Linked DNA regions of Homo sapiens: regions 1 and 3 are each linked to region 2. Evidence: promoter capture Hi-C in 16 types of primary human blood cells and fetal thymus (Javierre and others, 2016). All regions are on one chromosome and are shown on one strand. Each heading gives the region's core, a stretch centred on a gene start or on the middle of the fragment in contact. The rest is flanking DNA. Distances are from core to core; before and after follow the strand shown. Region 1 overlaps SUSD4 (sushi domain containing 4). Region 2 holds the start of TP53BP2 (tumor protein p53 binding protein 2). Region 3 overlaps LOC105373056 (a long non-coding RNA gene).

The links. The method cuts DNA at HindIII sites, captures the fragments that hold promoters and counts their contacts. A CHiCAGO score of 5 or more calls a contact.
Region 1: a contact is called between a fragment that was not itself captured here and the fragment with the promoter of TP53BP2 in region 2, in 1 of 17 cell types (fetal thymus). The highest score is 5.1, in fetal thymus.
Region 3: a contact is called between a fragment that was not itself captured here and the fragment with the promoter of TP53BP2 in region 2, in 2 of 17 cell types (total B cells and naive B cells). The highest score is 6.5, in total B cells.

Annotation. Positions count from the first base shown.
Region 1 is chr1:223,358,443-223,362,890 of GRCh38, forward strand. The region is part of intron 2 of SUSD4 (sushi domain containing 4); the gene reads right to left. Among named protein-coding and RNA genes, the nearest start is that of SUSD4, 3.5 kb to the right of the region's middle. The HindIII fragment of the contact is 1,460 bases long and covers 2,079-3,538 here.
Region 2 is chr1:223,843,056-223,847,555 of GRCh38, forward strand. TP53BP2 (tumor protein p53 binding protein 2) reads right to left here and starts at 2,892. Exons shown (of 18, transcript NM_001031685.3): 1 at 2,599-2,892. The coding sequence starts at 2,625. RefSeq lists a silencer at 2,720-3,029. The HindIII fragment of the contact is 2,144 bases long and covers 1,732-3,875 here.
Region 3 is chr1:224,106,637-224,111,173 of GRCh38, forward strand. LOC105373056 (a long non-coding RNA gene) reads right to left here. Exons shown (of 3, transcript XR_007066897.1): 2 at 4,127-4,537. It also overlaps the pseudogene RN7SKP49. Among named protein-coding and RNA genes, the nearest start is that of FBXO28, 5.2 kb to the right of the region's middle. RefSeq lists an enhancer at 130-199. The HindIII fragment of the contact is 2,502 bases long and covers 764-3,265 here.

The sequences.
Region 1 (4,448 bases), core at 1,559-4,058, 480 kb before region 2:
CTATAAAGAATGCAGAGCACTTGTTTATACCAGAGTTTCCCATCTAAAGGCAAGCCTCGTTGGTCTTTTGCAAGCTTTGGAAATATGTCTCTGAAACCAGGAACAGAATAATTTAGGTGCTTTTATTCACGTATCTAATCAGTGTTTACTGGAGAGAGATCTTCACCTACATTTTTCATTACATTCAAAAATTAAAGAACCACTGATTCTCTGACTTGCCTCTTCAGGCCTCTGAGACAAGAGATTTGCTACTTGTTATATGAAATCCTTTTGCCTCCAAAAGCTTTCAGATTTTACCCACTGGATAAATCAAAAGAGTCTCCATGCTGCTTATATTAAGGTAGCCTTTTGTTGAAGAAACATACATTAGAGTTAGAGGAGCTGGGACTTTGCTTACAGATTAAGCGCAGTTTGAAATTGTGAATTTTAGATGTAGCATTGAATGAAAAGCTTTCACTCTACCATGTAAGAAAATGTTTCTCAATAAAACTAAGGGACTTAACACTACAAATCAGTGAGTCAGTCAGAAAGCATCTGTTTCCACCTGCTGGCACAGAGCACAGCACTACAGCGACATGAACCAAATGAGGGCTCCAGGAGCTCAATTCAGCTGCACTAGGACCATGACTTGGGTATGCAGAGAGGGCCGCTGGACCAGGGGTTTGCATGAGTCAGAGACCTAGAAACAGAAAAAGGAAGACAAGCCAAGCTCAGATGATATTTTGCTCCTGCTCTCCACCCTTCAGTGGGTTCCCCACTGCCTGCTGTGTGACTTTCAGAACCCCTATTGGAGCTTCTAGGACTTTTACAATAAGGTTCTAACCTATTTTTCCTTCTACCCTACTGATTCCTTGCAGGTATACTATATTCCAGATTAAACGGACTATTTTCTGCTCCCTGAAGGGTCCAATCATGTAACCACCTTCCACACCTTTGCACAAGCTATCCCTCCACCTGAGATGCACCCTCCCTCCCCACCATCCTATCCTAAGTGCTACCTCTTCTCTAGAGCCTTTCCTGATTTTCCTTCCAACCTCATAGGCTACCATTAATTGGATGTGGCCCCAGCTATCATGAAACTTTTGCACTTTTGTAAAAAGTAACTCACTCATAGCAATTATTTTCTAAATGGTGTGGCAGTAATTTGGGAATCTTTTTTCTTGCTCTCAATCAAAATTAGCTGAACATCTACTGTGTGTCAGATGTTGTGCTGGGTGCCTGAGACACAAACATGAATAAAGTCAAGTTTCTTGCCCTCAGTGGGCTTGTGGTCTAGTAAATGAGGCAATATTATGATAGAGGGTTACAGCTAGTGCAATGGGAGCCCAAGTAAGGGAAGAACTTACTGACTAGGGAAATATGAGAGAAGTTATGGCATTTAAAAGTTGGGGATAGAAAGAAATTTGAGAAAATTTGCTCATTTAGGAAAAAAATGAGTAAGAGAGAGTTCTAGGTAAAAATAACATTTATGCAACAGTGCTTGGCTCAGGACGGGGTAGGCACTCAATGTTTATTGAATGAATAAAGCAAAAGTCTCCAAAATCACGGCATTGTCTTAGCCCCCTCCGCCCTACTATTATTTACATTTACTAAGTGCCTACATGATTTCCATCCTTCACACCAACCCTATAAATTAGGCACCGTCATCCTCATTTTATAGATGAGGAAGCTGAGGCTCCCAAGTCCTGAGACCCCAAAGCTATCAAGTGGCAGAGCCTGATTGAGTTATTTATAATACAGAAATGTGCTAAAGAATTCACCTTAAAGGAGTCACTTGTTGAGCAAACTCTTGGCTCTCTTCCTTGAAGCCTGGGGGTGGGGGGCACTCTGGGCATCCCTCAAAGCCCAGCAGGTCTCTGGTCAAGTGTACTGGGGCAGAAAGGGGAGAAACAGCTGAAGCCATGCTCCATGCAGATTCCACACACGGCAGGGTCCTATATCTCCCCACCAACCTAATATGAGTTCTTGCACAGCATTTGGTCTCAGTGGCCCCAAATGAGGGCACTCTTCCTTAACGACAAAAGACAACCTGGAGAGAGCCACCCAAACATCATCTCAGGACAAGTCAGGCTCATAAAAGCTTCCCTAGGGTTCAAAGAACTGAATCGGAGCTCTGGCTTTCTAAGACAAAGCATTTCATTTTTGATGGAGTTCCTGTTCCTACTTTTCTTTGATCATTTTCTCAATTTCTGCCTTTCTAGTTCAGGCTTTTTCTTCAATACTTGTACTGGGCACATGCTTTTTTTTTCTCCTAGCTGAGACGATTATATCTTGCCATTGCGGTGTTCCTTTTCCATTGAAAGCAATCAAAAATGAAAATCCACATTTCAGAACAGTGTCCATTAAATATACACTTTTTTGTGGATGAAAAAAAAGCACTCTCCGAGGGCTGATTTTCAGCTCTGTGTATCACCTGAAGATTAGATATTGGGTGAGACTTCTGCTCCTCACAGGCCATTTGCATTCAGTAATTGAGAATGATGGCAGAAAGTCTGGAGCAGAAGCAACTTATTTTAAGGAATGCCTTGGTCTCAAGCATGGCTAATCAAAGTGTGGTCCTTGGATCAGTGGTAACTGCTTCACCTGGGAGCTTATTAGAAATGCCGAGTCTCAGGCCCCACTCCAGACCAAATGAATCAGCATCCACCTTTTAACAAGATCCCAGGTGACTTGTATGCACATTAAAGTTTTAGAAGCACAAGTCTAGAGCTAAGGTGTATTTGCTTTTATTGCCTTATTGGAGCCTCCATGTGCATTTCTTTCCTAAAAAAGAAAATCTCTGTATAATGAACTCTATAGGACATCCCCCACCACCCTTGCTTGCCCAAACGGTTTATTCATAGAGGAACTGTGAAGTGATAAATACTCTTCCAGAAATCACACTCTCAGCCTGAAGGAGTTCAAAGTGAAACGCAGCTGATGGCTAGCTTCCTGCAGCATATGAGTGCCTAAAAAGAAAGAGCTCTGAGACTGACAGGTGACAGGCAACCCTTACTCTCATCCTCTTCTCCAAGGCTCTGGATATTTTTGCCTGGCATGATCCCCCACAGGAAGGCAGGGAAAAAAGACATGCTATAGGAACCTCATAGGTGACTGTCATAAGACCGAGGTGGCCATGATGTACACTGAGCTCTGAAATGTTGAGGAGGATGCTCTGTAAACACGACCAAGCAGAACCAAGAGCACAAAACAAATCTCAGCTGTGCTCAGACCTCACCCATCCAATAACAATAGTCAAGACAAATGTAAATGAACCTTGATTAACTAGTCTGTCATCTACATAAGAGAAATGGACCAAGAAGATGGAAAATCATGTGGACCTGGTTTGAGAGAATGAAAGCTAGAACTGGGAGGCAAAAGCAGAGAGGAGGGGAGGAAATGATCCAGATCCACGCAATACTGTTCTGCCCGTCTATTCCCACTCATATGTGAAGCAGAGCTGGTGTCCACGGCAGATTAGAGGCTGTGACCAGAGCCCTGGCAGGGCACACAGGTGCTGGCCTGGCCTCACACTTGACCTTCTCCTCCATGAAGAGGAAGCTTGCCTCAGAGAAATCTCTATAAAAAACTACAAGCATCCAAAAAGTTATTCCTTCTTAAAAAAAAAATACAAAAATAAAAATAAAAACCAATGTCCACCCAAAGCAAGTGTTTTCTCACTAATTTTGATAGATATGCACATTGCAATAAACACCTTTATACTCTGGGCATCTTTCAGATGTCTAAGTGGAATGCCTGGGTTATTGATTACTCTGTGTTAAAGCCCAACTTATTACACCTCTCCTCCACTTTTGCTAATTTTTCACTCATTTTTTTTCCATTTTCACCTTTGAATTCTCTGAAACAGCAATATTTTAAAACGCTAAAATGGTTTATTTACATCAGTCAATACTTGCTTTTCAACCAAAGATAATTTATTTATATATTAACAGTATCTCAGCTCCTTTTAACGTCCACATCAGCAAGCTCTAGAGAACGTTTGCAATGGACAGGAATGATGGACAGCAATGAGCAGTGGAGGCAGGGAGACTAGGCTCTCAAATTCAGACAGGAACTCCATCTGTCTTCCTCTACCACAACTAAAAGATACCCCTCCCCCAGAACCAAATATGTTATAGATTAGCCGCCCACGGAGGCTGAGGCTATCAATTTTATTTCAGCTAACTTCTACTTCATAGAAGAGCAACTGACTTTATTCCCTGAAATCATACCTCGATGAGCAAAGCAATCTGTCAGAGGCACACCTGAAAGAATACCTCTGCACCTCCTCCACGCCCCCAACATACACATACATGCTGCACACACAGGGGAAGGGAAAGTTAACTTTCAAATAAACCTGCCCCGCAGCCAGTCTGACCACGTTTCCAGACCCTTCACATTCTCAAAGGTGGTTCTTAAACTCTTGCTTAAATCCAGAGGCTGAAATCTGACCTCTATCTGCTGAAGGC
Region 2 (4,500 bases), core at 1,642-4,141:
GCCTTCTAAAATACATCTTCCACTTTTGGTTTTGGATCCAATTATCACTTCATGTCCCACATAAAAGAAAACCACTTGATCCTGTACCATTTGGTGAGAAAACACATGAACACAATTTATTTGCACTTTTTTTTTTTTTTATGGAGTCACTCTTAGTTACCAGGCTGGAGTACAGTGGTGCCATCTCGGCTCACTGCAACCTCCACCTCCAGGGTTCAAGCAATTTTGCCTCAGCCTCCCGAGTAGCTGGGACTACAGGCGCACGCCACCACACCCAGCTAATTTTTGTATTTTTAGTAGAGACGAGGTTTCACCATGTTGGCCAGGAGGGTCTCAATCTCTTGACCTCGTGATCCGCCCGCCTCGACCTCCCAAAGTGCTGAGATTACAGGCATGAGCCACCGCTCCTGGCCTATTTGCACATTTTTAATATAATGCAGTCTAAATAGTAAACCATTATCTTCAGAATGCCTTTAAAAGCAAATCAAGGGTTGTACCTAATGCCACAGAACTGTACACTTAAATATAGTTAAAATGGCATATTTTATTTTATGTATATTTTACCACAATAAAAGTACATCAAGGCAATTGTCTACATTCTGAGACTATCCATTTTTTTACACTAAATGGCTTTTCCTGATAAATTGGTTAGAATTTTCCAAAGCAATGTAACAAAATTACATTTATGTTGGAATAAAAATCCAAGCATATGAAAAGCCAAAGATGAGAAATATACTTAATAAAAGTTTTATTTTCAAATATCCAAAATATTACAGTATAAAGACACATATAACATGAGTCTACTAAATGAAAAATTATTTCATATTTTTATATATCACAAATCTGAGAATCTCCACTTTAACCAACATTGGAAATTCAGAGGCGTTTATCTACCGCCTATTGCAAGCTAGACACTGTACTAATCACACTTCCTTCATAAACATAACTCTAATCCTCAAACCACCCTAAGAGCTGAGTACTATTATCCCCATTTTACAGATGATGAAACTGAGGGACAAGTTTTTTTTAAGTGGCTACGTCACTAAAGGTAGTAGCTGAGCAATACTGAAGTGTTAGTCTGACTTCAAAGCTGGTGTAAGTGCCATCATACCACACTGAGTCTGTGTTAGGATTGTATTCTGACATCAGAAAGGCAATCAGAAGAACCATACTGCTAAATTGAATATAGTCTCAAGAGCCACATAACGTTTTATGAATTCGGCTACACAACGGATACCTTGGTAGGGTATCTCCAAAGGATACCTTGACAAAAAACAAGGAAGAAACCATATAGCAACAACTGATACGTGTTTCTCTTGCTCCTACTGTTAGGAAAAATTCACAGACAATCCGTACAAGTTACTTCAACACAAAGAAATGTAAATCCAGGAAATAAAAATCTTAACAGCAAAATCCATCACCCTTATCTATGGTCCATTATTTCAATATTGGGTATTCACACTACAAACCTGATTTCATAACCAGGCATTAAACTAAAATAAGATGCATAATGCTATTAATACTTTCAAATTCCTTGAATCCTGGCAGGACAAAATATCCCAAACCCTCTAAACCCAATTACTAATTCTAGTGAATTGTTAAGTCGACCCAGTGAGAGTTTGGGACGCCCTCCATGACACAAGCAGGGGGCCAGGGAACAGCATATTATACTCTGTATGTATGACTGCAAACTTTGTCATCACTCCATTCCACAGACTTCATAAAAGTAAAAGCTTTTTGTTTCTTTGTCTGAACAAATGGAGCCACAAGCATAGGATGCCTGCAAGATGTCCCCACTTCAGTGGGAGAGGTGCAAATACAACTTCCACGAAGAAACTCGCTACTGAAGTCTGCAGAAGCCACCGCAACACACCGCAAACCTCCATTCCGCGATCGCTGAATGACAGAGACATTTCTGAAATGTCTCAAACCTGCTGTTCATCTGTGGCCTGGTGGCCGTGTCAAAAGCCTGCGGAGCTCCTAAAGAAGGCACTAATCCTCTCCGGAGGTCTTGCTAAAAGCTGTGGGAAACGAAGGGAGCCAGGCACGTACGCTTTCCTGCAATCTAAAACTTCCGAGATTGCATTTACCAAAACCCCTTTCCACAAAGAGGTAAGGGTGACTTAGCTGCTACTGTGGATATCAAGATCGAAATTCAATTAAAAACAAAGCAAAGGTACCCGTTCCAGTAACGTATGTTTCACTCCAGTAAAAAGTAAAAAGACACAGCAAAGAACAAGGTCCCCGGTTCCCGTATTCTTGACCTTCAAGAACTGCAAAAAAGTCAAGACCCAGTGAAAGACGAAAAGTTTGAGTGGCTGCTGGGCTCGCGGGCGGCTCGCCTGACTCCGGAGCAGCTGGAGGAACCCGCCTCGAGGTTAGGGTCTCGCCGCGCCCCCACGACGGCTGTGGGCGCAGAGCCCAGAGGATGGAGCCTCCCCTTCCTGAAACCCGCTCGAAGCTCGGAAAGCCCCGGCCCCTCCGCGCGGGCTGCGGCCCCCAGGCTCCTTCCCCGACGCGCCCGAGGGCGCGGACCAGCCCCCGGCACGCGACCCCGCACACTTCCGGGCCCGACGCCCTGGCCGCTCGCCCACTTACCGGCATCATCTTGGACCCGAACCGCATGGAAGCGGGTGGCCAGACTGCGGCCCCGGCCGAGCTGAGGTGCCCCGGAGGGTCGCGGATGCGGGGGAGGGGAGCGGAGAGCGAGGCCGCCCGGACCTGTTGCGAGGCGGCGGCGGCGGCAGCGGCGGCGCGCGGGTCCGAAGGGCCCTCCGCGCGGGCTGGGGCACCAACAAGCCCCGGGCTCCCCCGCCCCGGCCGGGCCCCCTGACGCGGCTTTGTCTCTTCGACGCTCGTGACGGTCGGGGCTCCCTCCTCCGCTCCGAAACCAACTAATCCCGGGTCGGGCCCCAGCCGAGCCCGTGCCGGCTCCGCCCCCCGCGCCGACCCCGCCCGCGGCGCGCCCGGCGGCCTGGGGGAGGGGCGGCCGCGGGAACGGGAGCTGCGCGCGCCTGCGCGGGCCCGGCTGGGTAGACGGGGAGCGGCGGGAGCCGGCCGCCTTTTCTTTCTTCGCCCCGGACTGAAGTGCGGTCGGGGCCGCGCGGCGGAGCGGCTGGAGCGCGCGCCTCCTAGCGGAGCCGGGGCAATTGGAAGGCCGCGCCTCAGGAAAACAGGATGGTAGTGAATGGCACCGAGCCGCCCCAGGGCTGCCGCCGTCACCTCCTCGGCGGCTCCGAGTCGTGCGAGGCAGGGGACCCTTTGCCTTCAGAACAGGGCGCCCGACGTTGGGCGCGTGGACAGAGTCCTCCGGCGGCCGCGCCGCTGGGCCAGGCGGAGAGAGGCGGACGGACTTCAGGGGAGGCCCGGGCCACGCCGCGGAAACTACCCGACTCCCTGGAGGCGGCCAGGACCGACCCTGTCCCGACAAAATGGAGTTCCCCGTGTGGCTTCAGCTCGCGGCGCGTTCCCAGAGCTCCTCAGTGATCCGGCTTTCGGATTGTTCGCCTTTCATCTCATTTGCCGTTGTCCAAATTCTAATTTAAAACTCATGTGTTACTTGCTGTAAGGTTAACAAACGTACACCGCAAACTGGATAAAGGGATAACTTTTATGTTGTGTATGTTTTACCACAATAAAAATAAATTTTGTAAAAATGTGTCAGGCAGCATTCTGAGGAGCTTCCCTGGGGGGTGCTGGGAACACCCTGCAAACAGCCTCCGATACGGGGAGCCGGTGGATACCATCCTTTTCCAGGGAGGGAGGCCAAGGCCTAGGGAAATGGCAGGGCTGCCTTCCAAAGAGTAGCAGAGCGGGTTCAGGCTTTTATTCCACCTTCCAGAGAGACACATACTGCGGGAACCCTAACTCCAGGAAGCTTTGTTCTAGTAAGTTGTCAGTGCAAGTTCACTCAGAATCACTTTTCTCTGCCTTTATACATGATTCTAGAACCTGAAGTGGGGTAAATCCCCTGGGTTTATCTAGTATCAAGAACAGACAATTCTTTCTTAGCCCACCATATCCCTTACCAGAATCTCCATCGAACTCCCTATTGCACCATCCCAGATACTGTATCTGGAAATACTAAATTACGGTTAATTCAACTAGAATTTAACGTTCTCGCCCGGGCGCAGTGGCTCACGCCTGTAATCCCAGCACTTTGGGAGGCCGAGGCGGGCAGATCACCTGAGGTCAGGAGTTCGAGACCAGCCTGGCCACGTGGTGAAACCCTTGTCTCTACTAAAAATATAAAAATTAGCCGGGCATGGTGGCGCATGCCTGTAATGCCAGCTACTCGGGAGGCTGAGGCAGGAGAATCTCTTGAACCTGGGAAGCGGAGGTTGCAATGAGCAGAGATCACCCCACTGCACTTCAGCCTGGGCAACGAGAGTGAAACTCCATCTGAAAAAAAAAAAAAGAATTTAACGTTCTCAAAAAATCTGGTTTATAGTCTTGTTTTCTTAAGAGGGTTATACTGAGTTAAGCAAAATAAATTCATCC
Region 3 (4,537 bases), core at 765-3,264, 260 kb after region 2:
AGAACTGGCTGGAAATCTGCCCTTTGGAATTTACCAGAAATCTGTCCTCTAGGATGTCAGGGAAAGCAGGTCATGGAGAGGTGTCGCACCAGACACTTTACTACAAAGCCATTCAAGGGAGAAGGTGATGCCAAGGGAAGCTGCTGGTCAATGGGTGCTACTGACTACCCTGCCAGGCAGGACATGGTGCTGGAGAATCTGCCCGTGTGCTGCAGGAGCTGCCAAGCAAGCACACCGTAACCAGGAAGCAAAACTCTTTGCTCTTGCAATGTCTGCCCAGAGCCCTCTACTGACATAGCTTCACACTGCGCCAGCTGATAAAGAAAAAAACATTTAATGGGCCCGTTAGTATTTTCACAAAGCAAGCAAAAAAGGGTGAATATAGAGCTCAGAGGCAATTAAATGATAATTGACACAAACATTTTTTAAATAATTAAAAGCAAAAACAATCACCACTGGTCTACAGAATTAAAGTCCAAAATCCTGTGCACACATGCACTTCTCTCATCTTTTGGATGTTTACCTAATTCATGCTATTTGCTTTTACTGTTACCTTTGTTTGAAATGTCCTCACACCCTTTTTCAACTTTTAATTAACAAAACCACTGCAAGTATCCCAACATCATCATCCTTCTAAGTCAAGCTGAAAAAGAACCTTCTCCATGAAACTTTCCCTGGTGTTCCCATAAGTTTTGTTTACACACCTTTCTAATGGCAGAACAGAGGCAGCTGAATCACATGTCCAGAATAGTCCAGGAAATTAAGCTTTTCTTCCTGAATATACAACTTTAGGAAAACTGCACATGAGAAAATAAGGAAACACCAGTCCAGTCTGCCAGGTCAATGGAATAAATTCAGGCCATCAATGTGGTGACTGGTACTGCAGCCAGATTCATATCATCCCCAGGGTGGGAAATATTGTTTATATCTTAGTATCTTCCTAGCATTACCCATGTAGCAATCAATAAACACTTGCTGAATTGAAAGTCTAGTGGACTACCTTTTTCTGGAGTCAAACTTTAAATTTTAAAAAATTTATCTAATCATAAAATTTCATATATTAGTCATGATAGAAAATGTCTTATCTAGTCAAAAGATGGATCTTTAGGCTGGGTGCAGTGGCTCACGCTTGTAATCCCAGCATTTTGGGAGGCCAAGGCAAGCAGATCACTTGAGGCCAGGAGTTCTAGACCAGCCTGGCCAACATGGTGAAACCCCGTCTCTACTAAAAATATAAAAACCAGCCGGGCATGGTGGCTTGTGCCTGTAGTCCCAGCTACTTGGGAGGCTGAGGCACAAGAATCTTTTGAATCTGAGAGGTGGACGTTCCAGTGAGCCAAGATCACACCACTGCACTCCAGCCTGGGTGACAGGGCAAGACTCTGTCTTAAATAAATAAATAAATATTTAAAAAGATGGATCTTTAAAAACACAGTTAATTGCAATCCATAGAAACTTCAAATCTCTTTTTAGTTAGGATATGAGCTCTTCCTTCATTCTTTCTAAATATATTACAAATCTGCTAGCAAATAGAAAAATAATATCTAGTTTTAGCTTCTTTTTTAATATATAAAGCCCATCTTCCTATGGAGGTACCATTGAATAGGCTAGATCACCCCTCACCATGTCCCACCACACCCAACACCCCCCATCTCCTCAACACACACCCTAACCAGGGAAGCAGAAGAATAACAGAGTCCTCATTGTAGTAAATTGATTTTAACACCTTTAATCAGAGGCATTCCAAACCCCACCCATTTGCAGTCTCAGTTCATCCTCATTTCAACTGTGTGATATAAGAGAGGTAATATTCTCCCCTTTTACAAATATGAAACTAGAAACACACAGATCTTAAGAAGCATGTGTCCATCTCATACCCGAGACCACTGTCTTGCAAAGGTCCTATTGTAGTCTGTTGGCATAAAACTATATTTAGAACCTAGAACTACTCTTGAATTCAAATATTTGTATTAGTTACAAATAATTGTTGTGATTGGAAAGCATATCCAAAACAAGCACTGATTTTAATAATTGAAACAAATCCAAAACAAACATTGATTTTAATAATTGAAACAAAGAAACCATTTGCTTTGAAATTCTCTTATTAAAAATATGTACGGGCTCACACCTGTAATCCCAGCACTTTGGGAGGCTGAGGCGGGCAGATCGCTTGAGCTCAAGAGTTCCAGACCAACCTAGGCAACATGGTGAAACCCTATCTCTACAAAAATACAAAAATTAGCCAGTTGTGGTGGTATGCACCTGTAGTCCCAGCTACTTGGGAGGCTGAGGTGGAAAGATGGCTTGAGCCCAGGAGGCGGAATTTGCAGTGAGCTGAGATCATGCCACTGCACTTTAGCCTGGGTGACAGAGTCAGACCCTGTCTCAAATAAATAAATAAATATGAACTTAAATAAATTTTAAAATGTAGGAGATATAAGGGCACAAATCCAATATACATAAACAGAACCATTTGAATGAGCTACTGGCAGGAACTGGTTTAAATTGTTCCCTACATTGTATTTACTCTATTGTTAGATCAGTATTATTCTATTCAATGTATTCTATTGTTAGGTCACCTAATCTGGATGTTAACTAGCTGTCTGCCAGTGGAGAGTTAAGGGAGTGGGAAGGCTTTTCATGTGTCCACTTCAAGCAAACAAGTAATGATTGGATTTACAAAATAAAGTTAGAGAGTGATGATTCATATTTTAAAGGATTTTCTATGGGTTTCCTTTAAATGAGTTTCCATAATGAATTTAAAGCATGATTCTATTTACAAAAATTATATTTCAACCTAACCTATCAAGAAGCCATCTAGTTTTAATTAAAAAGGTAGAAAATGAATTTAATTAAGACTAAGTTGTAATGGGTTCTATGAAGAGATAGCAATATCATAGAAGAAAAGTAAAATTACAATCTATTAGTGGAGATAAAACTAACATATTATAAATATGCAAACATGTCAGAAAGAGTCAATCATAAAGCATATGTTGAATGCTAAACAACCCAAAGTAGGAGAATCAAAGGAACAACTTCAAAACTTTTGCAACAATCATAGGTAAAATGATAATTGTTCACATGCCAAGTGAATGGGGAAAGGATGCCAATTCTAACAAGCTCAACACCACCAATTAATTTCTTTGCTTCAGTTGCCCCCACTTCCCTTAACCTTTAGTCATACTTAGTTTTTTCTGCAGTTTTCACATCTACTGTGCAAACATTAGATTCCAAAAGAAAGCTACAAAAGAAAGGACATATTGGAAGCTTTAAGAATAAGACCAAAGCACTAGGGAGAAGAAAGCTTCAAAATTTAATGATTTGGCAGGCATGGTGGCTCATGTCTGTATCCCAGCACTTTGGGAAGCTGAAGTGAGAAGATTGCTTGAGCACAGGAGTTCAAGACCAGCCTGGACAATATAGTAAGACCTCATCTCTACAAAAAATTTAAAAAGTAGCCAGGCATGGTGGCGCACACCTGTAGTCCCTACTTGGTAGGCTGAGGTAGGAACATTCCTTGAGCCCAGGAGGTCAAGGCTGCAGTAAGCCATGATCATGCCACTGCACTACAGCCTGGGCAACACAGTGAGACCCTGTCTAAAAAAAAATAGTGACTTGTATACCTTTATCTTTGTCATAGGATATTATAAGTATACAAACATACAGAAAGTTTAGGCAACCTTTAAATTTTTTTTCTGAAATAATTACAAGATAGTACAAGGAAGACTCTGGTATACCCTTCAACCAAATTCATCAATTAATAACATTTGCTGTATTTGCTATATTAACCTCATTCTCTATCTATTTACTTGAACCATTTGAAAGTAATTTGAGGCATCATTTCCCTCTACCCATAAATACAGAAATACCTCTGAGATATTGAGAGTTAGACCACACAGGCCACCATAATAAAGCAAGTAGTGCAATAAACCCAGTGACACAAGTAAGTTTTGGTTCCCAGTGCATATAAAAGTTATGTTTATATAAAACTGTAGTCTATTAAGTGTGCAATAGCATTATGTCTAAAAAATGATATACTTTAATTTTAAAATATTTTATTGCTAAAAAATGCTAATCATCTGAGCCTTTGGTGAATCATAATCTTTTTGCTGGTAGAGGGTCTTACCTCAATTTAACAGCTGCTGATCGATCAGGATGGTAGTTACTGAAGGTTAGGGTGGCTGTGGCAATTTTCTAAAATAAGATAGCAATGAAGTTTGATACACTGATTGACTCTTTCACAAAGATTTTTTCCATGGCATATGATGCTGTTTGATAACATCTTGCCACAGTAGACCTTTTTTCAAAATTGGAGTCAATCTTCTCAAACTCTGCCATTGCTTTATCAACTAAGTTTATGTAATATTCTAAATCCTTTGTTGTCTTTTAATAATGATCACAGCATCTTCACCAGGAACAGATTCCATATGAAGAAATCACTTGCTTTGCTCATTCATAAGAAGCAACTCCTCATCCATTCAATCCATTCAAGTTTGGCTTTTTTTCTTTTCTTTTTTGAGCTGGAATCTCGCTCTGT